Linked DNA regions of Homo sapiens: regions 2, 3 and 4 are each linked to region 1. The links are contacts of gene promoters, found by promoter capture Hi-C in blood cells and fetal thymus (Javierre and others, 2016). All regions are on one chromosome and are shown on one strand. Each heading gives the region's core, a stretch centred on a gene start or on the middle of the fragment in contact. The rest is flanking DNA. Distances are from core to core; before and after follow the strand shown.

What was found. Contacts are between HindIII fragments. The CHiCAGO score rates a contact against its expected background, and 5 or more counts as called.
Region 2: a fragment that was not itself captured here is called in contact with the fragment with the promoter of IDH1 in region 1 in 1 of 17 cell types (total CD8 T cells); the score reaches 5.9 in total CD8 T cells.
Region 3: a fragment that was not itself captured here is called in contact with the fragment with the promoter of IDH1 in region 1 in 1 of 17 cell types (neutrophils); the score reaches 5.3 in neutrophils.
Region 4: a fragment that was not itself captured here is called in contact with the fragment with the promoter of IDH1 in region 1 in 1 of 17 cell types (neutrophils); the score reaches 5.3 in neutrophils.

The regions. Positions count from the first base shown.
Region 1 is chr2:208,250,284-208,256,320 of GRCh38, forward strand. It overlaps IDH1 (isocitrate dehydrogenase (NADP(+)) 1), which reads right to left and starts at 4,788. Exons shown (of 10, transcript NM_005896.4): 1 at 4,656-4,788; 2 at 3,603-3,676; 3 at 1,147-1,284. The coding sequence starts at 1,268. IDH1-AS1 (IDH1 antisense RNA 1) reads left to right here and starts at 4,950. Exons shown (of 2, transcript NR_046452.1): 1 at 4,950-5,148; 2 at 5,620-5,911. RefSeq lists a silencer at 3,933-4,042 and an enhancer at 4,496-5,022. The HindIII fragment of the contact is 4,060 bases long and covers 3,058-6,037 here.
Region 2 is chr2:210,470,449-210,476,485 of GRCh38, forward strand. It overlaps LANCL1 (LanC like glutathione S-transferase 1), which reads right to left. Exons shown (of 10, transcript NM_006055.3): 2 at 5,868-5,964; 3 at 1,511-1,628. The coding sequence starts at 5,948. Among named protein-coding and RNA genes, the nearest start is that of LANCL1, 3.3 kb to the right of the region's middle. The HindIII fragment of the contact is 475 bases long and covers 4,551-5,025 here.
Region 3 is chr2:206,120,062-206,126,098 of GRCh38, forward strand. NDUFS1 (NADH:ubiquinone oxidoreductase core subunit S1) reads right to left here. Exons shown (of 19, transcript NM_005006.7): 19 at 1-4,215. The coding sequence ends at 4,124. Among named protein-coding and RNA genes, the nearest start is that of NDUFS1, 36 kb to the right of the region's middle. The HindIII fragment of the contact is 3,064 bases long and covers 1,056-4,119 here.
Region 4 is chr2:206,142,002-206,148,038 of GRCh38, forward strand. NDUFS1 (NADH:ubiquinone oxidoreductase core subunit S1) reads right to left here. Exons shown (of 19, transcript NM_005006.7): 6 at 5,752-5,833; 7 at 5,530-5,660; 8 at 4,902-5,087; 9 at 2,891-3,025; 10 at 2,017-2,131; 11 at 685-830; 12 at 1-68. Among named protein-coding and RNA genes, the nearest start is that of NDUFS1, 14 kb to the right of the region's middle. The HindIII fragment of the contact is 1,617 bases long and covers 1,530-3,146 here.

The DNA.
Region 1 (6,037 bases), core at 3,538-6,037:
AGGAGTTCCTAAGATGCTTTTTTTTTTTAACCTAGTTGGAAGATGTTTTTATGCCTAATTTCTTATGTTTGGTTGACTTCTGCAAGTATTTATATCTTATCATGATTTCAATATAGACATCAGCAGCTTAGGTTTAGAACAATTAAAAAGTATGTTTAATGACATTATGTGAATTAAATGTCTCCACTCAAACAGGTCCTTAGGACAAATTTTGATGACTAATTCTGGGCTGAGGCAAACACACTTAGAGTTGCCAATAGTTTGGCTGAAACGTGTTGCTCAATATTTTTCTATGCCAGTCTTCAGCCACTTTACCCTTTTAAAAATTCTATCTCTACCTAAAGGTACAAAGAACAGAAGCAAGTTTATGAAAAACACAGCGAAAAAAATGAGAGAATTACATAGACTTTTGCATCTGTCCCCAGGCACTTTACACACAGGGCAAAGGGACACAGGATTTAAGGGAATTTTGCTGGAAAGGAGGGGTTCAACTAAGAAACATCATGAATTCTTTCTGCACTACAATTGTATGAAAAGGGCAAAAGGTGAGGCATGAAAAGGAAACAGGTCCATTGACTAAGTAAAGTGATAGAAAATTGAGTTTGAAATGACAAAATTGTGTTAACTGCATTTAGTTTACTGTTTCTTACATCCTCTCTTATTTCCCTTTTCTCAATACATTGTACTATTCTTAGCCACTGTTTTATTACAAATAAAACCTTCACAGGAAACAGAAGGTTAGAAGAATCTGAAAATCATTCTTTCCCTTATAATTCTTGACTTTTAGATGATAAATCCAGTTTTTCTAGCAGTATGTTAAAATTAGAAGATTCATCTGAATATATTTAGGCTTAAAACAAACTTTATTCACAAAACACAGCTATATCTATATAAAAAAAGCTAACTTCACCTCAAAATAATTCAGATTATATTCTTTTTTTTTTTCCTGTTTCTCCTTCCCTTTTTTTTCCTTTTTTTTTTAAAGTGATGGGGTCTCACTCTGTTGCCCAGGCTGGACTTGAATTCCTGGTCTTGAGGGATCCTCCTGCCTCTGCCTCCTAAGTAGCTGGGACTTCACGTGTGCACCACCATGCCCAGCCAGATTATCCTTTCTGAGTTTGCTACACGGAGGGGTAACTCATTTACCTATGTAGATCCAATTCCACGTAGGGAAAAATGAGTTTCTCTTTAATCAATTCCCAAATGATTCGTGTCATTTCATCTCCTTGCATCTCTACCACAGAACCGCCACTGATTTTTTTGGACATTTTGACTTCAATAAACCTAAAAAGAAAAAAAAAATACATGCCTTGTCATTTATTTCATTATAAAGTGAAATATATAAACAACGTAGTGTTTATATAAACAACGTAGTGACTACTAAAAGAACAATTCATGCAATTCAATTTATGTGTAGTTGAATAAAAAGCTAGTAACAGCAATTCTATTTACCATTAGAATTGAGTATCTTCTCTGAACAAAGTATTGTGTTATGTTTCACACGCGGTTTCTGAGCTAGCCCTCATAACAATCCAAAAAAATGGCCATCATTTCCCCATTTTACTTTGTTAAAAAAAAAAGAGCTTTCCCAAGGCCACCTAGCTAGAGCGTGGCAGAGCCTGACCCTATAACGTGCCCTTCATAATGCAATCATTATTCTCAACTACTGGTTTGTCTTAAGAAATGAGATTATTTCCACAATCTCATGTTTATTGAACACTTCAGTCCAACTCATCATTTTACTGGGCTCTCAAGATGTCCAGAATGGTGAGTGCTAGCATTTCTCCTCCTTTAAGAGGCTGTTTTTGTTATTTAATAAAAATAACTAGCCATGAGGAGATTCAGCTGGTTCCTGTGACCCATATTCAGGGAAACTTTAAGTCTAAAAGCGAGACGAAGAATTCCTGGTGGAACTGTTTTCCTAGAGATAACACAGACATTGGAGATGTGGGGCTAAATACAACAAAGTGATTTCTCAATTAGAAGAATCTCTATACAGTAGGGCCACTGCCCAGGACCCAAGCATGTCCCTGTCATCTTCTTCTGGCTGTTCACAGGCAAGGGTAAGCTGCTAGTGAGTGGGATAGGACAAACTGTGCATTGTCCTAGGAAGACAGCACTTTAAGGATAGGGTGTGGGGGTAGCATATACAAATCAATCTGATTCTCAGAAAGTGCAAGGTTGGACGCTTTGGAAGAAATGAAACTGTCCCAGCTTGTCCCTAGAGGCAGAAGAAGCTCTGAGCCTGCTAAAAGTTATCTATTCCTTCTAATGATGCTCTAATCGAAACTCTTTTTTAATCCAACAACACAGCTGCAAATTGCTTTTATTCTCTTAAGGACTAAAAAAGTCAAGAGAATTGACTTTAAAGAATTATTAGATAAGAAGCCTAAAATAGTCTTTCTTGAAAAATTGAGCTAAAGTAATTTGGTCTTTAAATAAAAATGTAATGATTAGTAGACAGTAAGCGTCTGTTTCTTGACAAGCCTGGATGTATTTCCAATCCCCAGGCCCATTTTCACTTCCCAAATTCGCAATTCTAGAATTCTTCTTACTAGTGTTTAGGAGATTCCTTTGGGGGAACCTTCTGGAACTGAACTAGACTAAAAGAAATGAACAGAATGGTGTGGATGAGTCAATTACTTCCCATTTGTAATGTCAAGTATAATTTGTAGTACAGCTGAAAGCATATGATTCAGTTCATGTTTGATTCCACTGTCACACCTATCCTTGTTTTAAAACAAAGCAAAAAAGGAGGCAGTGAACTTATCTGGTTCCTGATAATACACTTCCATGGCCATGTCCCTATATAGTATGATGCAACAGTCATGACATGGCAATTTATTCTTGATGGCAAATACAGTTAATAGAGGTCAAATATTGTACCTAAAATGTGAAGACTGATATCTTTTTAGTTCACTATTTCCTTCTCAGTTAAAGCAACTGTACTCTCTGCAGTAATCTTTCTTTATCTCATAATGCATACTTCAGACGCTTCAGGTTTTCCTCACATTACTTAGCCATGAAATTTTTACCATCTTTTAACTAAAACAGTGAAGCTTTATTGTTACTACCATGTGGAACATAATTGTATTTCTTCTGGATCTGATTTCCATGGGATGGGCTTGAGGCCCCACTGGACTGACTTCTCCACCTTTGTTGCCCCTCAGATTTTGTCTCCAACCCAATCCCAACTTCAGAAGGAAGGGCTGTTCCAAGACCAGCAGGCACCAGCTCATATGAAGTAGCTGAATCCTATCTCCTAACATAATTGTGCAATTCCAGAAAATAAACCTGGAATAACAATACAGAGTAGTTTAATGAAAAAAAAGAGCCATTTAATATTATTTTCATCAACCTCAAGTTTTTGGCCAGATTGTTTTTTGCCGAGTTCATGAACTACAATAATTTCTGGGCAAAAAGGATCTCTTGCAGATAAGACACTGTATTAAAAGAAACAAGGAAGCTGTTGGAATTCGTTGTTGGAAATATTCCTCACTCATTCCCTTGCAGTGCCTCGGCCTGCCCCCAAGACCAGTTAAACACTGTACTGCCACATCAAAGAAAGTACAGAAGAAGGGGGAAAATTTGCTAATTCTCACCTTGACAGTGAATAGATTTCTTATCACCCCAGTTCCTCCCAGTCTTGCAGACTCAACTGAATGTAGTTTATCGCCTAAAACAAAACAAGGAATAAAAGTGTTAACATACAGAACACTCACAGGAGAATTTAGCTGTTTTTAGTACCTGCCAGACAGCCCAGTTTATCCGGTTTAAAGTACAGTGCTGAGTGTACTCGGTGGGACAAAGGCCAATTTTAGGCCCGCAGGCACTTTCCAAATAAAGGTCATGGGAGCACAATTTATCTCTGCGTGTGCGAGGGCGTGCCCCCGCTTCGCCGCCCGTTAGCAGGTCTTGGGGTTTGCATGTCCTTGCTCTTGGCCTGCACCCGTCCTTATGGCCGTTGTGCAAGAGGGCTGCAATCAAGGCTGGATCGGTACCTCCTTCCAGGTCTCCACGCCCGCCCCTCCCCTCCCCTCCCCTCGCTGGTGCTGGGACCTTTTAAACTCCAGGCACCCGGAACTGGCGGGGGTGTTTCCCCCAGCCCCCTCTCGCCCCGTGTGGCCTAGCGACCCCTCTGAAGGCCGCTGGAGCTCCGCCCCTCCACGCCCCCTGGCGGACGCGAGGGATCGGCTTCAAGGCTATTCCTCGCCGCCTGAGTTGCCTGCAGACGCCCGTCTGCGGCTTACAGCCTTCTTTGCATCCAGCCCCCAGCTGCTGCACGTTTTCTTCCTCCTACACTCCAGGCTTAGTCTTCTACATGCATTCTTGCAACTTCCACCCCTCGATTTTCCAACCCAAGTGCAGACCTGATTTTCCCCTTGTCGTTGCATCCAACTTCCTCACCGCCCAGTTTCTCCCTCCCAGGCCCAAAAGCAGACCTTCTGCATATCCAAGCATCCAGCATCCCCTCCTTCCCTTTTCTTTTCCCATTCTCAATACCTGGATTTGTTCCCTTCTTTGCACGCAGGCCTTGACTCCCTCCACACCCAAGATCTGCGCTTTTTTCCTTTACCCCATTCCTGCCTTCTGCGGAATTAGAGCCACCCCTCCACAGCCAGGGACCGGGGCCGCCCCTTGGAGCCTGAGGTTACCTGCCGGGATGATATGCTGGCGAAGAGTTGGGGCGCCACAGCCGCTCACAAGCTCAGACTCACAACCACAGCCTGGCAATCCCAAACCGGACTCCCAGTGCCTCCGCTTCTGAAGTAGACTCTGCAGAAACCCGGGACCACAGGGTAGGTCCGAGCTTTTCCTCTTCCCGGCTTTGTCCCCTCCCAGGCCCCGCCTCCTCAGCCCACCTCCCCCAGCCCCGCCCCCGACACGCCTCCAATCGCCACACGCCAATTCCCGTGGGATGGGCGGAGTCAGCGAGAGGGGCGTGGCCACAGTCAAAGATGGAGAATCCATGGTGCCACTTTCCCGGTGATCCCGGTGGGGGAAGGGGTTGCCGCCCGGCAGAGATTCAGTCCCGAATCCCGACAGCGAAGAGACTTGTATGCCACCTGCAGGCCGGGGAGCGGGGCGCGCTGGGGCTGCACCACCCCGAACTTTGTAACAATCTAGAGCACCACAGAGTGTTTCCAGGTCGGCACAAAAGCGAACGGGACAGGGCGCCCTGGGCGGCGGCAGCTTGGCCGGCCCGCTGCCTAGCGCGCCCCCGAGGGGCGGTAATGGAACGTACCTTTGGCTGAAGAAAGAGTGCTCCCGGCCAGCGCGGGGTCGCCTAGGGGGTTCCGCGCTGCCTAATGCAAAGGATGGAAAAGTTACAGAAGCAGGTCCTGACACCACCTATGTCTAGGTCTTTAGAAACTCCATTGATTGTTTGCATTAGAAGATAATGAATGGGATTCTTATTATTTTCTTTTTTAAGACAGGGCCTTGCTCTGTTGCCCTGGCTGGAGTGCAGTGGAGCGATCACCGCTCACTGCAGCCTTGACTTCCTGGGCTCAAGAGATCCTCCCACCTCAGCCTTCCGAGTAGCTGGGATTACAGGTGCACACAATCACACTCAACTAATTTTTCTTTCTTTCTTTTCTTTTCTTTTTCCTTTGGTAGAGATGGGTTTCAGCAGCCCAGGCTGGTCTCGAACTCCTGGACTCAAGTGATTGGCCCTCCTCGGCCTCCCAAAGTCCTGGGATTACAAGCGTGAGCCACCATGCTCAGTTGGCGGGGGATTATCTGTGATCCAATGAAGTTGGACTAGAGATGTGAAGCCTTAGAAAACGGTGGATTGAAAAAAGAATTTTAGTCTCCTCCAGAGATTATATTTTGTGTGTTCATTGCTCTCAAAAACATGAAAATAAAGAGTATTTTATATTGTGATTTGTAGGACAATAGCATGCTTGTATATTGCTGCCCAGAATTTAATGCTCCAATATTTATTTATTTATTTATTTATTTATGAGACAGAGTCTTGCCCTGACAGGCTGGTGCAGTCTCGGCTCACTGCAACTTCCGCCTCCTGGGTTCAAGT
Region 2 (6,037 bases), core at 3,538-6,037, 2.2 Mb after region 1:
ATTATTGGTTGAGTACCCGTTATCTGAAATCCTTGGGACAAGTGTTTTGGATTTCAAATATTGAAATATTTGGCTTATATTTACCAGTTGAGTATCCCAAATCTGAACATCGGTAATCCTAAATGCTCGATGAACATTCCCTTTGAGTGTCACATCAGAGCTTAAAAAGCTTCAAATTTTGGAGCATTTTGGATTTCAGATTTTCAGATTTGGGATGCTCAACCTGTACTAAAGAGGAAGACTAATAAGAGATTGCTATTATTAATAAATTTCTCTCAGAAAGCTTTCAAACTGCAGTCTGTAGATCACCATCTGCATCAGGACCACTGATGGCTATAAAAGGCAAATTCCTGGGTTCTGCTCAAGATCTACTGAATCACAATCTCTGCTATGAGGCCATTTTTATGACAAATTCCACTCCTTAAAATCAAATTAAAATTCCCTGGATTGCAAGCTTATTCCTCCTTGCCCACTCTTTAAAGCGAATGGGAAACACTGAGTCTCTAGACTATGCTTTCTTCCAGATTACACAGCTGTCTTTTGTTTCTCTACATTTGGTAAATTAATTGCAGTTCTTCAACTTTTCTTCTTTGATTTTTTTTTTTTTTTTTTTTTTTGAGATGGAGTCTTGCTCCATCACCAGGCTGGAGTGCAGTGGAGTGATCTCATCTCACTGCAATCTCCACCTCCCAGGTTCAAGTGATTCTCCTGCCTCAGCCTCCTGAGTAGCTGGGACTACAGGTATGAGCCACCATGCCCAGCTAATTTTTGTAGTTTTAGTAAAGATGGGGTTGCACAGTGTTGGCCAGGATGGTCTTGATCTCTTGACCTCGTGATCCACCCGCCTCGGCCTCCCAAAGTGCTGGGATTACAGGTGTGAGCCACTGCGCCCAGCCTCTTCTTTGATTTTTCTCTTTCTCACCTTTTTTTGACATCAATGCACTGTTTCTTCCTAAACCTCCTCCAGCCTCTCAATGATTGAGATTGGCAATGCAGCAATTGCAAACCAAACAGCAATGACCATATGGGAGGATTAGTTCATGGAAGTAATACTTTACCCTGTATGGATTCCTGTATGGATTCCTGTTACGGGTTAACTTTTTAAAACATGCTTCTGGACATATTTTATTCCTGAGATCAATCCTCATTACCTCCGCTTCAGGCATTGTATTTTGGAACTCTTCCCAATTCTTCCCACTGAAATTACATCTGCAAATTAACTATGTAATATTGAAAATCAATTTTTCTCCTCACAAGTATAGCAGCCATCCAAATGTCAGGCATGAATTACATGAATATGCTTACCATGCCCTAAATTCAGGGCACTATTAAAAACCCAGAAGATACCATGGTTGGTTGGGTTGAGGGCACAGCACTCTCCCAGAAGCAATTACTCATATGCAGATGCAGGAAGCATTTAAGGGTGTACCATTCAGACAGACAGCTCTCGGAAAAATGCTCTGGCTCTTAAGCACAATGCTTATGCCAGCTCACAGTCAGCACTTCATACCTGCCCAGCCAGTGTAACCGGTGCCATCCCGAGGGTCTGCTGATTTCAGGCCTCTCTCCATTTGCTGAAGAAGCTCCCGAATCTTATTGGTCAAGCGTTGTGAGAACTCAGGAGTCAGCTAGATATTAAAGGAAAACAAGTATCAAAATAATGTGGGTCACCCAGCTTGCTGGACTATAAGCTATCAAAGACAGAAAGGTATTTCTTTTCCACTTAGGACATATTTTTCCACCTGGAAGACTAAACAATTTATTTTCTATTCTTAAACAACAACATCACATTAACAAAATTTATAAAATACCGTTGTAACTTATACATGTTTTAAATAAAATTTTTAGTTAAATACTAAAACAGACTGCCAATGATAAACTGGCTCACAGTAATTTTCCACCTAATAGTAATCGTCTATTATTTAAACCAATATTATAATAAAGTCTTTTTATTAAATTAAGCACAAATCAGATGTTTGGTGCTTTCAAACTACTGGATTTTTAGTATTCAAGCTGCAGCAAGGTAAATTCCCTAAAGAAACATCTAATTGCTCTTATTTAAAAAAAAGGATTTAAAAAAAATGAAGTAGCCAAAGAAAAGCAAAACAAATTCATGTATATCAAGAGCCTTAAGCAGAATAGAAAGAATATCAAACTTAGCATCATAAACCCACGTCCAGCACAGTGTCTGGCAGAGAATACGGGCTTCACAAATGTTTCTCAATGAATGAGCCTGTCTACATCCTTACCCGCTATTAGCTGATCTTGCTCAACTCATAACTTCTTTATGTTTCAAATACCTCCATAAAGTCAGGATAATAATAACTGCCACGCCAATTTCAAAAGGTACTTTGGGGATTAAATGAGATAGTGTATCACAAGTCTTTCTCATTCAGGGATGTAAATGTTGACATTTTTACTAATTCTTTAGCAGATCAAGGGTCTAAGGCAAGTAATAGTTTAGATATGGATTGAAAATACACTAAGGCTGGGGCTGTGGGGTTAGTACCACCCATATGAAGGTCCACAGATGCTGTGCAAACAGTGAGGCTCACACAATCATTACGTTATTCTTCTTAAAGGCAAATGAAAAATAATTTTAAACTTCTGCACACACTGAATCAGTGTCTTAAAAAGTCACTGAAGGCCGGGCACAGTGGCTAATGCCTGTAATCCTAGCATTTTGGGAGGCCGAGGTGGGCGGATAACCTGAGGTTAGGAGTTCGAGACCAGTCTGACCAACATGGAGAAACCCCATCTCTACTAAAAATACAAAATTAGTCGGGCATGGTGGTGAACGCCTGTAATCCCAGCTATTCGGAAGCCTGAGGCAGGAGAATTCCTTGAACCTGGGAGATGGAGGTTGTGGTGAGCCGAGATCGTGCCACTGCACTCCAGCCTGGGCAACAAGAGCGAAACTCCATCTCAAACAACAACAACAACAACAACAAAAACCCAAAAAACTCACTTTATTGTCTCCCTCAATAATTTTAAGAACTTGCTGTGATTCTAAGACTTGAATTTCACATAGTAATTAAAATTTCAGAACAATGTGGGGGAAAGTTACAAGGGTATAAACATTTTATTTTACCATGTAAGGATTGTAGAAATAAACCTAACCACTCACATCAGAATCTCATTTTTAAAAATGAGATAAAATCTTAACACTGAAAACAGCAAGAAGGCAGTATCAGAATTAACAACAACAACAATAGTTTAAGGATACGTTAAGATTCACTTCGGAGGAGCATCCTTGATAAGGCAAATCAGACTTTCAACCACATCTGGATTATTTAATCTAAAGCACCACTATGATCCCTTATTTCACTCTTTAGAAGAAACGACGTTGTTTGACAGACACACTCCCATTATTTAACAATTTCTGCAAAGAGGTTAAGATTTCAACTAGACTTGAAAATACATTTAGTAGGATAAAATATACTTCAATGTTAATACAAAAGGCCTATAAATCTCAGCTAGATAGAAGAGTGCATCTATATTGAGAACACGTCATCTACTGTATATAGATCATATATAATTTATCATCTTGCCTGGCCTTCAAGAGATCAAGAATAATGAGAATCTCTCAGCCTTATGAAGGGAAGTTACTTTCTGTTTGGCACATTCTGCATTTAATAAAGGTGACCTCTGTGAGAATATTGATTGCTTGTGGTACACCACCAAATCATTCAAACTCTAGCTATAATCTGAAGTCTCTAAAAGTCCTTTTTTCTTTTCTATTTTTTTCTGACAGATGCCAGAAAACAGACCAGTTCCTTACTGAAATCTTGTGTTAAGAAATTAAGGAGGACAGATCTCCAGGGTTTGATCCTCCGTGTTCAACATTACACAATTTTAGAACTGGTATGCTACTTCCTTTCTAGGACCTGTCCAAAAACTACGTTAGGCAATAAACTACATTATTACTCTTGGGTCAGGGTTTAAATTTGTGAATTTTTCCCCTTAGAAACAAAGGGTTAAATTTGGCCCGACATGGTGGCTCACACCTGTAATCCCGGCACTTTGGGAGGCTGAGATGGGTGGATCACTTGAGGTCAGGAGTTCGACACCAGCCTGGCCAACATGGTGAAACCCTGCCTCTACTAAAAATACAAAAAAAAAAAAAAATTAGCCAGGTGCGGTGGTGTGCACCTGTAATCCCAGCTACTCAGGAGGCTGGGGCATGAGAGTCACTTGGGCCTGGGAGGCAGAAGTTGCAGTGAGCCAAGACTGTGCCTCTGCACTCCAGCCTGGGCTCAGGGTGAGACTCCGTCTAAAAAAATAAAAATAAAAATAAATAAATAAATAAATAAAGGGTTAAATTCATAAAAAGCATTTACTTTATAGGCAGTCTAAATAGGTACATTTTATTGAAGGTTTCTGTCACTAGGACAATCCTCAACTGTTCTCTTTGCCAAGTCAGTATGAAGCAGCAAGTCCTCCTCCCGCAAGACAAGACACATACTTCAGCTTGAGAATCTGCACAGCTAAGCAGAATGCAGGCCCAAATGGCCAAAGGGAATCCATCTGACCTGAAGATAATTATAAAAAGCTTTGTTTGGGCAGCTTAATACTAGTCTTAAAATAATCAGATTGACTCAAACTCCATATACATTTTGGTAGCCTTCTACCCTACACCTCTTCTTCATCTCTTTGATTCCTCCTACCTGCATTACTGACCCAAGTTAATCTATAATGTGACAAGTGTTTTAAGGAAAAAAACAACCATCAGACCCACAGATTAATTTGACAGGGATGAAATCTGTAAGGCCTTTATATCACATAAAATGTCTTTTGTATGGCTGACAAGTTTCAAAGAAATAAACTGGTAAAATTTTTAAAGCGTGTGCCTTGTTTCCAACTTAACTCATTTTCAAAACTAAATTTTATTTTTTTATTTTTTAGAGACAGGGTCTCTGTCACCCAGGCTAGAGTGCAGTGGTGCAATCATAGCTCACTACAGCCTCGAATCTCCTAGGCTCCAGCAATTCTCCCGCCTCAGCCTCCCAAGTAGCTGGGACTACAAGCTTTCCACCACACCTGGCTAATTTTTAAAAAAATTTTAGTAGAGATAAGGTCCTGCTGTGTTGCACAGGCTGGTCTCAAACTCGTGGCCTTAAGCAATCCTCCTGCCTTGATTTCCCAAAGTGTCGGGATTAATGGTGTGAGCCACTGCACCCAGCCAAAAGTAGGTATTCTTAAAAATATCTGTATTCCCTCTTAACAATTATGTTCACCCAATGAGGCATGAGAAAACACAGGCCCCTAGTATTTTACATCCAGGTTCTCTTTTGCACAGTGATTTGTGACATGCTAACCAGTTTAATTTACAAGTTTCTTTTTTTTTGTTTTCCAGCTGTGGATATGCCCTGTGGAGTGACACCGGTACAAAGAACTTCAGGTTTCCTAGGTCCCCAAATTCTCTAAGCACTAACAGTTTAAAGACGTCCTTACCATACACCACCGTTTGCTCTCATCATTACCCTGAACGCACTTGTGTATAATCACAAAGGAGTAACACGGCACATGTGAATACCGTTAGGATTCTTCACCTCTTTTTAAGAAGCAAACCAAAATACATTAAAAAATGCCAATTACATAGTAAACTACATATTTGCCAATTTTTAAAATTTATACTATCAATAATTGAGTTTATTTCAATTAATAATGTTAACAATGACACATTTAACATTATGTTAGAGCTCAATTTGTATATATTAACATGTATTTTTAAATAATTTACGTATTTATCGTCGAATCATGTATTTTTTTAAAGGGGGATGCTCAACTCTCTCAGGCAAAAATGAGCACCTTTCCGAACACCGTGGGGAGAGGCAGGGATGCAGGCAGACATATCCTAAACTCACCCTCCCGGCAGCATCAAAGTAGCCTTCGGCCAGGGATTTGTTATAATCAGCATAAGGATTCGGGAAGGCCCTTTGAGCCATGACGCCGGAAGCAAGCCTGCAGAACAGGGGAAAAACAGAAACTAGGTTGAGATAGGGGCCTCGGCCGAGTTGCGAGGGCGGCGGCGGCG
Region 3 (6,037 bases), core at 1,338-3,837, 2.1 Mb before region 1:
CTCTCTCACCATGTGATATGCTCGCTCCCATTTTGCCTTCTACCATGATTGTAAGCTTCCTGAGGCCCTCATCAGAAGCAGCTGCTGGTGCCATGCTTTGTGTACAGCCTGCAGAAACTGTAAGCCAATTAAATCTCTCTTTTGCAAGAATTACCCAATCTCAGATATTCCTTTACAGTAATGCAAACAGATTAAAACAGATTAGTACTGACAGTGGGGCACTGCTATACATATTGGAAAATGTAGAAACAGCTTTGGAACTGGGTAACAGGCAGAGGTTGGAAGAATCTGGAGGGCTCAGAAGACAGAAAGATGAGGGAAAGTTTGGAACTTAGAGACTAGTTAAGTGGTTGTGACCAAAATGCTGATAGACATATGGTGAAGTCCAGAGTGATGAGGTCTCAGATGGAAATGAGGAAGTTATTGGGAACAGGAATAAAGGTACATCTATGTCATGCTTTAGCAAATAGCTTGGGTGCATTGTGTCCAGGCCCTAGGAATCTGTGGAAGTTTGAACTTAAGAGTGATGACTTAGGGTATCAGGGTATCTGGCAGAAGAAATTTCTAAGCAGCAAAGCATTCAAGATGTGGCCTGGCTGATGCTAGCAGCCTACAATCAGATATGGAAGCAAAGAAATAACTTAAAGTTGGAACATATTTAAAAGGGAAGCAGAGCGTAGAAGTTTGGAAAATTCACAGACTAGTCATGTGGCAGAGAAGGAAAAAGCACTTTGAGGAGAGGAATACAAGCAGGCTGCAGGAATACAGTTGTCCATGCTGGACTCAACTCATTTGCTCAAGCAATCCTTGTGCCTCAGCCTCCCAAGTAGCTGGGGCTATAGCTTGTGCCATCATGCTCAGCTATTCACCTTACATTGCTGTCCAAAATGTTTTCATTTGAGGCAACCTGGGATAGTAAAAGTACTTCTAATTAAACACTCCTGCCATTAGTATCTAGCTGTGTAGCCATAAATAAGTTATTTGATATTTCTTGAGTCTCAATTAATACCTACTATTAGCAGAGATTTTGTGAAGAATAGTCTTAATGTATTTAAAGCTTTAATGGCACTTATTTAGAAGGTCCTCAGGAAATGGTATTATTATTCCAAGGTCTTTCTAGATTGCCTTATTCACCTAAAGAGACTTGATCTTGAGCCTTTGTAGATTTTCTCATTGGTGATTCCTTCACTGCTTAGAATGTCATGATTCCACCAGACAGGTTACTCTCATCTACGTGTATTTTTCTTACATCTTTTTCAGTCTATTTTTCTCTAGCAATTATCTTCAATGTTTATGCTTACAATAACCTTAGTATTTGGCATTACGACACTAATATGTGCCCATGAGACAGACGGAGCACTACTTATCCCAGAGGAGGTATTATTTATTTATTTATTTATTTTTTGAGAGGGAGGCTTGTTTCTTCACCCAGGCTGCAGTGCAATGGTGTGATCTCGGCTTACCGCGACCTCCGCCTTGACTCTCAGTTCAAGCGATTTTCCTGCTTCAGCCTCCCCAGTAGCTGGGATTACAGCCATGTGCCACCATGCCTGGCTAATTTTTGTATTTTTAGTAGAGACAGGGTTTCACCACGTTGGCCAGGCTGGTCTCAAACTCCTGACCTCAATGATCTGCCCGCCTCAGCCTGCCAAAGTGCTGGGATTACAGGTGTGAGCCACCGCGCCCGGTCCAGACAAGGTATTTTTTAGAGATTATGATTGTTCACCACAAGCTGCCTAGCAGGTAGCCCAAGGATCCTGGATCAACTTAGCTATATAGCATCTTTTCTATCTGAATGCAGTATTCTCTTACCCACAACCATATGAAGTCTACACATATTCATTAACAGTATTATATAAAATACAAAATTGGGACTATGTCCCCTCAAGATGAGCACAGTGCTAAGAGGTAAGAGATGGGAAGTTTGTATTAAGTTCAAACACTTTTGGCAAGAATTTATACAATTTCAGGTAACTGGGCATTTTAGGCAAAGCACACAACTTCATGATGTATCACTGAGGAGGATAAGATAAACAGTTCTAAAAGCTGGTACAGGTGACAAATTTTGTGCAATTTTAAGTTTTACATTTTTTTGTACAAATAGGATCTTGCTATGCAGTCCAGGCTGGTCTTGAACTCCTGGCCTCAACTGATCTTCCTGCCTTGAACCCCCAAAATGCTGGGCTTACAGGTGTGAGCCACTGCACCTGCTGTTTTTAAAGATATTGTAACATACTATTATTCTAAAACCTTATCCTTTGTTGTATCAGAAAAACGACATCCTAGACTGGGCGCGGTGGCTCACGCCTGTAATCCCAGCACTTTGGGAGGCCAAGGCAGGTAGATCACCTGAGGTTAGGAGTTCAAGACCAGCCTGGCCAAATTGGTGAAACCCTGTCTCTACTAAAAATACAAAAATTAGCCAGGTGTGGTGGCGTGCGCTTGTAATCCCAGCTACCGGGGAGGCTGAGGCAGGAGAATCGCTTGAATCAGGGAGGTGGTGATTGCAGTGAGCCAAGATCATGCCACTGCATTCCAGCCTTGGGTGACAGAGTAAGACTCCATCTCAAAAAAAAAAAAAAAACAAAGGGAAAAAGGGCATCCTATACTTGGGCTGAGTCTTTAGTGAAAGCAGAAAAGAATAAGGATTACAAAACAAATAAATTGTGAACATAGTTTTGTTTGTTTGTTTGAAACAAAGTCTTGCTCTGTTGCCCAGGCTGGAATGCAGTGGCGCAATCACGGCTCACTGCAGCCTCAACCTCCTGGGTCAGGTGATCCTCCCACCTCAGCCTTCCGAGTAGCTGGGACTATAGGTGTACACCACCACACCCAGCTAATTTTTGTATTTTTTGTAGAGATGGGGTTTCACCATGTTGCCCAGACTGGTCTCCAACTGCCTGGGCTCAAGCGATCCACCCACCTTGGCCCCCCAAGTGTTGGGATTACAGGTGTAAGCCACCACACCCAACCTTAGATTAAAAAAAAAAATTATCTATTTTTAATTATCTCCTAATTGTAAAATTTTTACTTCCTTTTTTATTTTTTTAAATTCTCAGTGATCCTTATTCTGATTCCTTTTGGTTTTGACAATTAAAAATTATGAAAGCTGGTTGTTTTGTCTCCTATTGCTGAAATAATTTAGTTGATTTAACACTACAGATGGTGTTAGGATAATGAATACAGAACATCAATGAGAATCTAAATTATATCTCTTGAGACCTCCCTCATTCCAAGGGAGGTCTCATAAGTATACATGCATACATGTATAACTTATAAAAAAAAAAAAGCCACATAAATCACCATGACATTATAGAAGCAGATTCAAGAGAAAATAGAAAAATGTGTTCACCATTAAACTCAATACTAATTTTTAGAAGTAACAACCTATAGAATCAACATTAATGAGACGAAATAATATGTTGCAGTTAAGAACAACAGGCTTTGGAGTAAATAAGAAGTAGGTTTGAGTTGGTGACTTTTGCTGTGTGGCCTTGGGCAAGCTATTTAATATACCTAGGCTTCAGTCTTCATCAGTAAAATGAGATAATACTACTATCTCACAGGGTTGTAGCAAGAACAAAAGAAGATAATGCATGTAAAACCAGAGTGCTTAGCACATATAATAAAGCTAAATTATCATTAGCCATTGTTACTATGATTATTATTAATTATAATTATCCTAGATACATATCTGAGCATGATTATGTATTTTTCCTATTTACCCAGCTTGACAAGGTGCTTAAATCTTTTCTTTAGCACTAGAAAAAAGTAGGTTTTAATTGAACCTCTTTTCATTTCATCCATTTTACAGACAAATTATTTATGAAGATAAGCCAACAACTCATAATTTAAGGATCTCTTTATGTTCGTCACAAAGGTTATCAATGCTTTTAAGAGCATCTGCATAGTTTTGTTATTTAACCTTTACACACAATACATGTTTTTCAAACTGCAAAGTTGATAACTAATATCATTTTCAAATAGGCATAGTATAACCTTAAATATTACATGATTCAAATTATTATTATTTTTTTTTACAAAGAAATAAACCTGTAAAGGATCACTGCACTACAGTTGTCCATTAATTATCTGCGGCAAAACTGGGATCCTAGTAGAAGCTTCAGCATATGGATGGTTCCTCTACTGCCTGGGCACCCTCTGTGACAGCTTTGACACATTTGGCCATTGTCTGTGAGGCTCTGCTAATTGAATCTGAAAGATATTAAGAAAATGTCATTTTGATAATACAACTTTTTAAAAAGCACATACTAAAACTTTAATGGTGCACATATTCAGGAGGAAAAAAGATTATAAGGCCCTATGCAAGTATATATAATTATATGTAACCAACAGATTCCAACGATAAACCCCTTACTGGCCACATGCTTTCAATAACTATCCCTGGAAACAATCAAATAACTATAGAGCAGCTAGACAGTGCACCAGTATGCAGCCATTAAAAAATTATAGAAAAGTATTAAAAACATAGGAAAGGCCAGGCGCGGTGGCTCACACCTGTAATCCCAGCACTTTGGGAGGCCGAGGCAGGTGGATCACGAGGTCAGGAGATTGAGACCATCCTGGCTAACACAGTGAAACCCCATCTCTACTAAAAATACAAAAAATTAGCCAGGTGTTGTGGCATATGCCTGTAGTCCCAGCTACTCGGGAGTCTGAGGCAGGAGAATCGTGTGAACCTAGGAGGCGGAGCTTGCAGTGAGCCGAGATCACACCACTGCAATCTAGCCTGGGCGACAGAGCAAGACTCTTGTCTCAAAAAAATAAATAAATAAATAAATATAGGAAAAATGTGTACAATACTATTATTGAAAAAGGTTACAAAACAGCATATGTACTAAAATACATTGAATTGTCCACTTCATGAGTAAATTTTAGGGTACATGAATTATATTTCAATAAAGCTATCAACCCCCAAGTGAATAATCTCACTTTTTTTTTTTTAAAGAGACCAGATCTGACTATGTTGCCCAGGCTGGTCTGAAACTCCTGGATTCAAGCCATCTGCCCCCCTCAGCCTCCCAAAATGCTGGAATTACAGGCATGAGCCACTGCACCAGGCCTAATCTCACCTTCTGTTTCACTAAAAAATATATAGGCCAGGGGTGGTGGCTCACATCTGTAGTCCCAGCACTTTGGGAGGCTGAGGTGGGTGGACTGCTTGAGTCCAGGAGTTTGAGATCTGCCTGGGTAACATGGCGAAACCCCATCTCTACAAAAAATACAAAAATTAGCTGGATGTGGTGGTATGCGCCTATAGTCCTAGCTACCGAGGAGGCTGAGGTGGGAGGATCACTTCAGCTCAGGAGGCAGAGGTTGCAGCAAGCCAAGATTGTGCCACTGCACTTCAGCCTGGGTGACAGAGTAAAATCTCATCTCAAAAATTATACACACACACACACACACACACGTACATGTAAACAGTAATAATTACATATAAATAACAATAGTTAATTAATATAATATATATGTGTATAATGCATATGTATGTCCCTGGAGGAAGAGTGACTAAAATGTTAAAAATAATTATAGTTATTTCTTGATAGTGGGAGGGTAGTGATTTTTCTTTTTTTAAAAAAAAAAAAACTTTTAGGTTCAGGGGTACATGTGAAGGCTTTTTACACCAGTAAACTCATGTCACAGGGATTTGTTGTACAGAATACTTCATCACCGAGGAATTAAGCCCAGTACCCAAGACTTATCTTTTCTGCACCTCTCCCTCCTCCCACTCTCCACTCTCAAGTAGACTACAGTGTCTGTTGTTTCCTTCTTTGTGTTCATAAGTTCGCAGATAAATACCATAGAAGTGATTTTTTGTTGTGCTTTTGAGCATAGGTATTATTTTACAATGAAGGTAATCTTTATTATCTAACTAAAATACTTATTTAAAAAATCTTAGATACAAACTATATAAAAAAATTAAGAGTTCTATGTGCTTTTAGATAGAAAATTAGTCAAAATAATCTATCAACTATTAACTACCTCATAACCTAGATGTTGTATCAACTGTTCTAAG
Region 4 (6,037 bases), core at 1,088-3,587, 2.1 Mb before region 1:
GAACAACATCTGCCTCTTCCACACCAGCAATTGTAGTATTAAGAAGATAATTGGAACGCAAATCTGTGCTAGAAATACAATATATAAAATGCAAATTTACTTTAAAATTAAGACATACAGAGAATCCATGAAATATTCTCCTATCATCAAACCCATTGCCTTCTCAAACAAAAAATTTTATGAAGTATTTCTAAATTAAATGAACATTTCAGATACTTATTTTTTTTCTCAGATAGAGTCTCACTCTGTCTCCCACGCTGGAATGCAGTGGCGTGATCCTGGCTCACTGCAACCTCCACCTCCCAGGTTCAAGCAATTCTCCTGCCTCAGCCTCCCAAGTAGCTGGAATTACAGGCGCACACCACCACGTCTGGCTAATTTTTTTGTATTTTTAGTAGAGACGGGGTTTCGCCATGTTGGCCAGGCTGGTCTCAAACTCCTGCACTTAGGCGATCTGCCTGCCTTGGCCTCCCAGAGTGCTGGGATTACAGGCGTGAGCCACTGTGCCTGAGATACTTAGTGATAAGTGGATTCCTCTATTTCCTACAACTTCTGGTTTGATCTTGGTCTATATATGAAAATAAACTGGGGGATATGTTGGAGAATCCAGGTTGTCACATTTTATACATAACTTGTAACTAAAAAAAGAAAGGAAAGCCTAGATCCTAGCTTCATATTTCTCACCCAGCTCCTGCAGTGGGGAAGACCTCTTCAGTGCATAAGGTGTCAGAGTCCACTCTATTAAGCAAATCTTTGAGAGCTACCAGGGCTTCAGCATCCACCAAGCCACCTGCAATTGCTGCCACATCTTTGCCTTGAAAACTCTGCAACTAGAAACAGATGAAAAGGGCATCACCAAGAAACCTACACGCAGCAAAGACCACAATGAAATGTTCAGAAAATAAAACAGTACTTGTTTTCAAGTACAAAAAAAGTTAACAGACTTCTGATTAAAAGTTTTACAACATGCCCAGGCACACTGGCTCATGCCTGTAATCCCAGTACTTTGGGAGGCAGAAGTGGGCGGATCACCTGCAGTCAGGACTTTAAGACCAGCCTAGCCAACATGGTGAAATCCCATCTCTACTAATAATACAAAAATCAGCTGGGCATGGTGGCATACGCCTGTATCCCCAGCTGCTCGGGAGGATGAGGCAGGAGAACTGCTTGAACCAAGGAGGCAGAGGCTGCAGTGACCCGAGATCGAGATCGCGCCACCGCACTCCAGCCTGGGCGACAACAGCAAAACTCCATCTCAAAAACACAAAAAAAGTTGTACAACAATTATTAATTAATCTAAAAGTGAAAAGCTGCAGAGGTGTTATGTGGGGCCACAGCTAATAACATCAACTTAGAAGGAAGCTGTTTTATATTTAGGAACAAAGGCACTTCAAAATGAGGTCTGGAGAATGAAGTGGAACTATAGTTACCTTAAATGCGACCTCCTCTGAAGTATCTGCCTTTCCCTCTAGTGCTTTATGTTGTCTTTCTCTAACAAGAAAACTATTCCCTCCACTTGTACTCTGGCAAGCTTATATTCATTCTCAGATTCTTCTTTAAGAATCACCTTCTGTAGGAAGGCAGCTTTTTTTTTTTTTGAGATGGAGTCTCGCTGTGTCACCCAGACTGGAGTGCAGTGGTGCGATCTCGGCTCACTGCAACCTCCAAGGAAGGCATCTTGATATGCCTGTCCTAGTTAGGCATTCCTCCTACGTGCTCTCACTCATATTACTCCTTATATAATTACTCATAGCTGCATATAATAATTGCTGAATTGTGCAACTTTCTCTACTACAAGATTGTAGGATGCAGGAATGATGTGTCTCTGGTCTTTATATCCCTTAATAGCATAATATCTAGCATATGTCCTCAGTAGATGTCTGTAAAATGGAAGGAGATTAAATCATAATCTTGGTAAAAGTAAAAAAGGGAAGAAATATACATCCCCCCCTTCATGGCAAAGATGTTTCTTGATAATCACAAACACTATTTAACACTATTTATTTCAAATTTTACCATTCCAGCTACGCGAGAGAGCGCATCCTCCCAAGAAGTATAGGTTAAAAGCCCTTTTTCATTTCTGACCATTGGCTCGGTAAGTCTTTGACGTTTTAGCCCATCATAGGCAAATCTAGAAAACAGAAATTACACCATTGTGGAATCTTGCTAAAGAAGTAACTATAATTTTCAAGTTAAATCAACAAGAAATGTTATTTAAATACAGTACTGGTTAAAGTGTCAAATATCTAAACACCTAGATACAAGTAATTATTCCAGATATTTTTAGAGATGAACTAATAGATTTTATGAACTTCACCTAAAACTAAAATACCATCTGAAAGTTTGATTTCTTCCCTTAAATCATACAAAAAAAAGTTTGATTTCTTATACTTTCAGCTAACTGAACAATCTTAAAATTACAACACAAAAAAATCTGACAGCTAAAAAAGTCAAATCATTTTTATTTACAAAGCATGAGTATCTCTAAATATTTTATCAAAATTATATTGTGCAAACTCTTCTATTCAGCTTCTTTTTCAAGCAATCATCCCACCTCGGCCTTCCAAAGTGCTGGGATTACAGGTGTGAGTCACTGCGCCCAGCCTAGCTTCTTTTCTCTAATGAACAAACTGAAATAAGTTGAGAATGTATCAATCTACTTGAATTTCTCCATGTGGGAGGAAAAAATATCTTTCTCAAAGTAAATACAATATCCAGGGATTGACCTAGGACTATTAAAGTCAGTATTATCACATTATATAAGCAACTCAGATTCCAGTAGTCTATATTCAGTAACTAATTTGCAAATATAAAAGATAATTCTTCAAAATTATTATAAAATTTCCTTTAAATAAACTGTAAAAGTTAAGGAAAACAATATAGCATATACCTGGTTTTATCAGAGATCCACTCTTCATTGATGTCCTCATGCATACGTGGCAAAATCCTCATCACTTCTCCAGTTCTTGTGCTAACCACAATATTACTTCCAACCGCATCCATTACATCAATGGATTCTGTCTTTCTGAGAAACACATACGGTGTTTACTATGGTGCTTTTGGGAATAAAGAAAGTTTCTGTTACCTGGTTTACCAAAAAATTTTTTTTACAATTAATTCCCTTTCTGAATTACTTTAAAAAATGAAGCTTAGAGGAACTGCAATTAAATAAAAGAACCCCCCACCTTTTTTTTTGCCCTGGGGTCTCACTCTGTTGCCCAGGCTACAGTGGCATGATCATAATTCACTGCAGCCTAGAACTCCTGGGCTCAAACTATCCTCTCACCACATTTTAAAAATTTTTTGTAGAGCCGGTGTCTCATTATGCTGACCAGGCTGGTCTTGAACTACTGGTCTCAAGCAATCCTCCCACCTTGGCCTCCTAAAAGCTGGGATTATAGGTGTGAGCCACTGCTCCCGGCACACCCACATTTGAACACATAAATTCCTGGCACAGTAAGGAAGGCTTTAAAACTATTATCTGACACAGAAGCTAGTTTGAAGGGGCTCCAACTAGCCAAATCTGGGACGATTCAACAAGAGGGGCAGGATTTCTGTCTATGGGAGATTAAGGAGCTCAAAAAACCTTCCCACTGAAAAGCAAAAGTAAAGCTGGCCAAAAATGACAAAACCCACCATTTCAGCAGTTTAGAAATCTAAACACATACAATGTGGGAAGCTTTTATGCACTGAAAAACTGGTGGCTGGGCTCAGTGCTCCTCCTATGCTCCTCTCCACCCCCTCAAAATGGAATTTCTTCGAGGCCGGGGCAGGCTGTGAAGATGAGAACTTCTTTGGTACAGATGGAGACAACTCACTTAACTTGGAGCACGAGGCAAACTTGTTTGTGGAGGTGATACTTTGGAGGTCATCGTAGCTGAGGATAGCCAAGATTTTACCAGCCTAAGTTTGTAGTGGTAATTGCGGCAAGCATTCCTAACAGAGGCTGCTACATGTGCAGGTGAAACCAGAGAAAGCTCAACCTATTCATAAACTCCTGGATAACTCTGAGACCCAAAGGGCCCAGTGCAAAGTAATAGCTGGGCAAACTTGAAAACAGCCTCAACTTTGAATATGCTCCTCCATCCACAAACAGATCCATTGGCAAAGAACATAACTCTTATTAGGTCACGGTGTTTGAAGTACAATTATACCTGACTACTAAACTATGCAGACACAGGGGAACTCCTAAGAAGCCTCACTTAAAAATAAAACCAAGAATATTAAAATATGTTGAAAGAACCAAAGAAAATCATATTTAAAAATTGAAGGGGATGTATGACAACCACGAATCAGCAAGTAGAGATTCTCAGTAAGGACACAGAAATTACACAGAAACAAAAAGCCAAATCCCAAGTTGAAAAGTATAAAGTTTAAAATTGGATGATAATTTGTTATGTTTTAAGAACCTTAAAAATAATCACACCTCTTGCATCTATCTACTCCATTTCTTGGTTTAATCAGGAGAATGAGAGATATACACAGAAATGTGTAAACAGCAATATTTTTTACAGATTTGTAATCATAAAGAAATATACAAGCTAAATGTCTATTAGCAGAAACTGGCTAAATGACATTCCTCATAGTTGAAAACTTAATAAACAACAACATGGGAGACTATACATTTAAAATGTCAACACTATTAAACTCTTTGGAAGAACACATGAAAAAAATAATTTTGTGGTTGAGTACTTTAGAATTAATTTCCAAGAAAACTACAGTTAATTTGCACAGGTTCAATCCATTCTAACTACTTACCTTCTATTTAAAGGGTTTTACATAAACAAACAAAGTCAACAGACCAAAACAACTGAAACCCAGGAAGAAAATGAACCTTAATATTTTTTTGAATAGTAATGAATTAAGGACAAAAAAACAAATTGTCATAAAATAAAAGATACCTTGTTTCCCAAGGCCGGGCAGTAAAGGCATAGGGCTTAGAGGTTAGGGCACCTACAGGGCAGATATCAATGATATTCCCAGACAGTTCAGACATGAACATCTTTTCAATGTATGTGCCAACTTGCATATCATTTCCTCTGCCTGTTGTTCCCAAATCATCTACTCCTGCAATCTCACTTGCAAACCTACAAGATAAAAAATGTGTCATCAATGGTCAAGTCCAGCAAAATTATTTCCTTTCTTATTCATGATCACAAAGAGATGATTTTCCAAACACTAAAAAGAAATGAGTATATTTTTAAAGGTGAGCACAGTCCTAGAATAAAAAATAATGAAATGTTTGCATTTAATTGAGGTGTAACACACAGGCAGAAACTTGTACAAATCATATGTGTACAACTCACCAAGTTATGAGTGAAAGCAAATGCTTATAGATTTTAATTTTTAAATCCACCTGAAGTTGGTACTAAATGAAAGTGAACTTATTTTATTCATATATCAGAAACAGCATCCCTCTTCTCCCACCCAAAAAAAGTAGCCATTCTTTCCAATGTTATTATTCATCAAATTGTGACTATTAAGTATACAATTATATTCTATAATAGAAAAAAAAGGAAAAAAAGTTACCTGATGCAGCGAGTACACTGTATACATCTTGTCATGATGGTCTTTACCAATGGCCCAATGTTCTTGTCTTCCACAGCACGCTTCCCCTCTAAAAATCGGCTCCTATCATTTCCAAACATCATGGACTGGTCCTTAAGTAGATTATGAAAGAGTCAATCTCATGCTGCTAATAAAATTAAAATCTGAGACAACCAAAAAGATTGACAGAATTCTACTACATACCTGCAGATCACATTCACCTCCCTGGTCACAAATAGGACAGTCCAATGGGTGATTTGCTAATAAGAACTCCATCACACCTTCCCTGTATGAAAATTGTAACATATAAAATGACTCTCAAATACACACACACTGACATTAACTGCTGGCACTCAAAATGACCTATAGACTTTATTTTTTTTTTTTGAGATGGTGTCTCGCTCTGTTGCTCAGGCTGCAGTGCAGTGGCACAATCTTGGCTCACTGCAGCCTCCTGCCTCCACCTCTCAGGTTCAAGCGATTCTCTTGC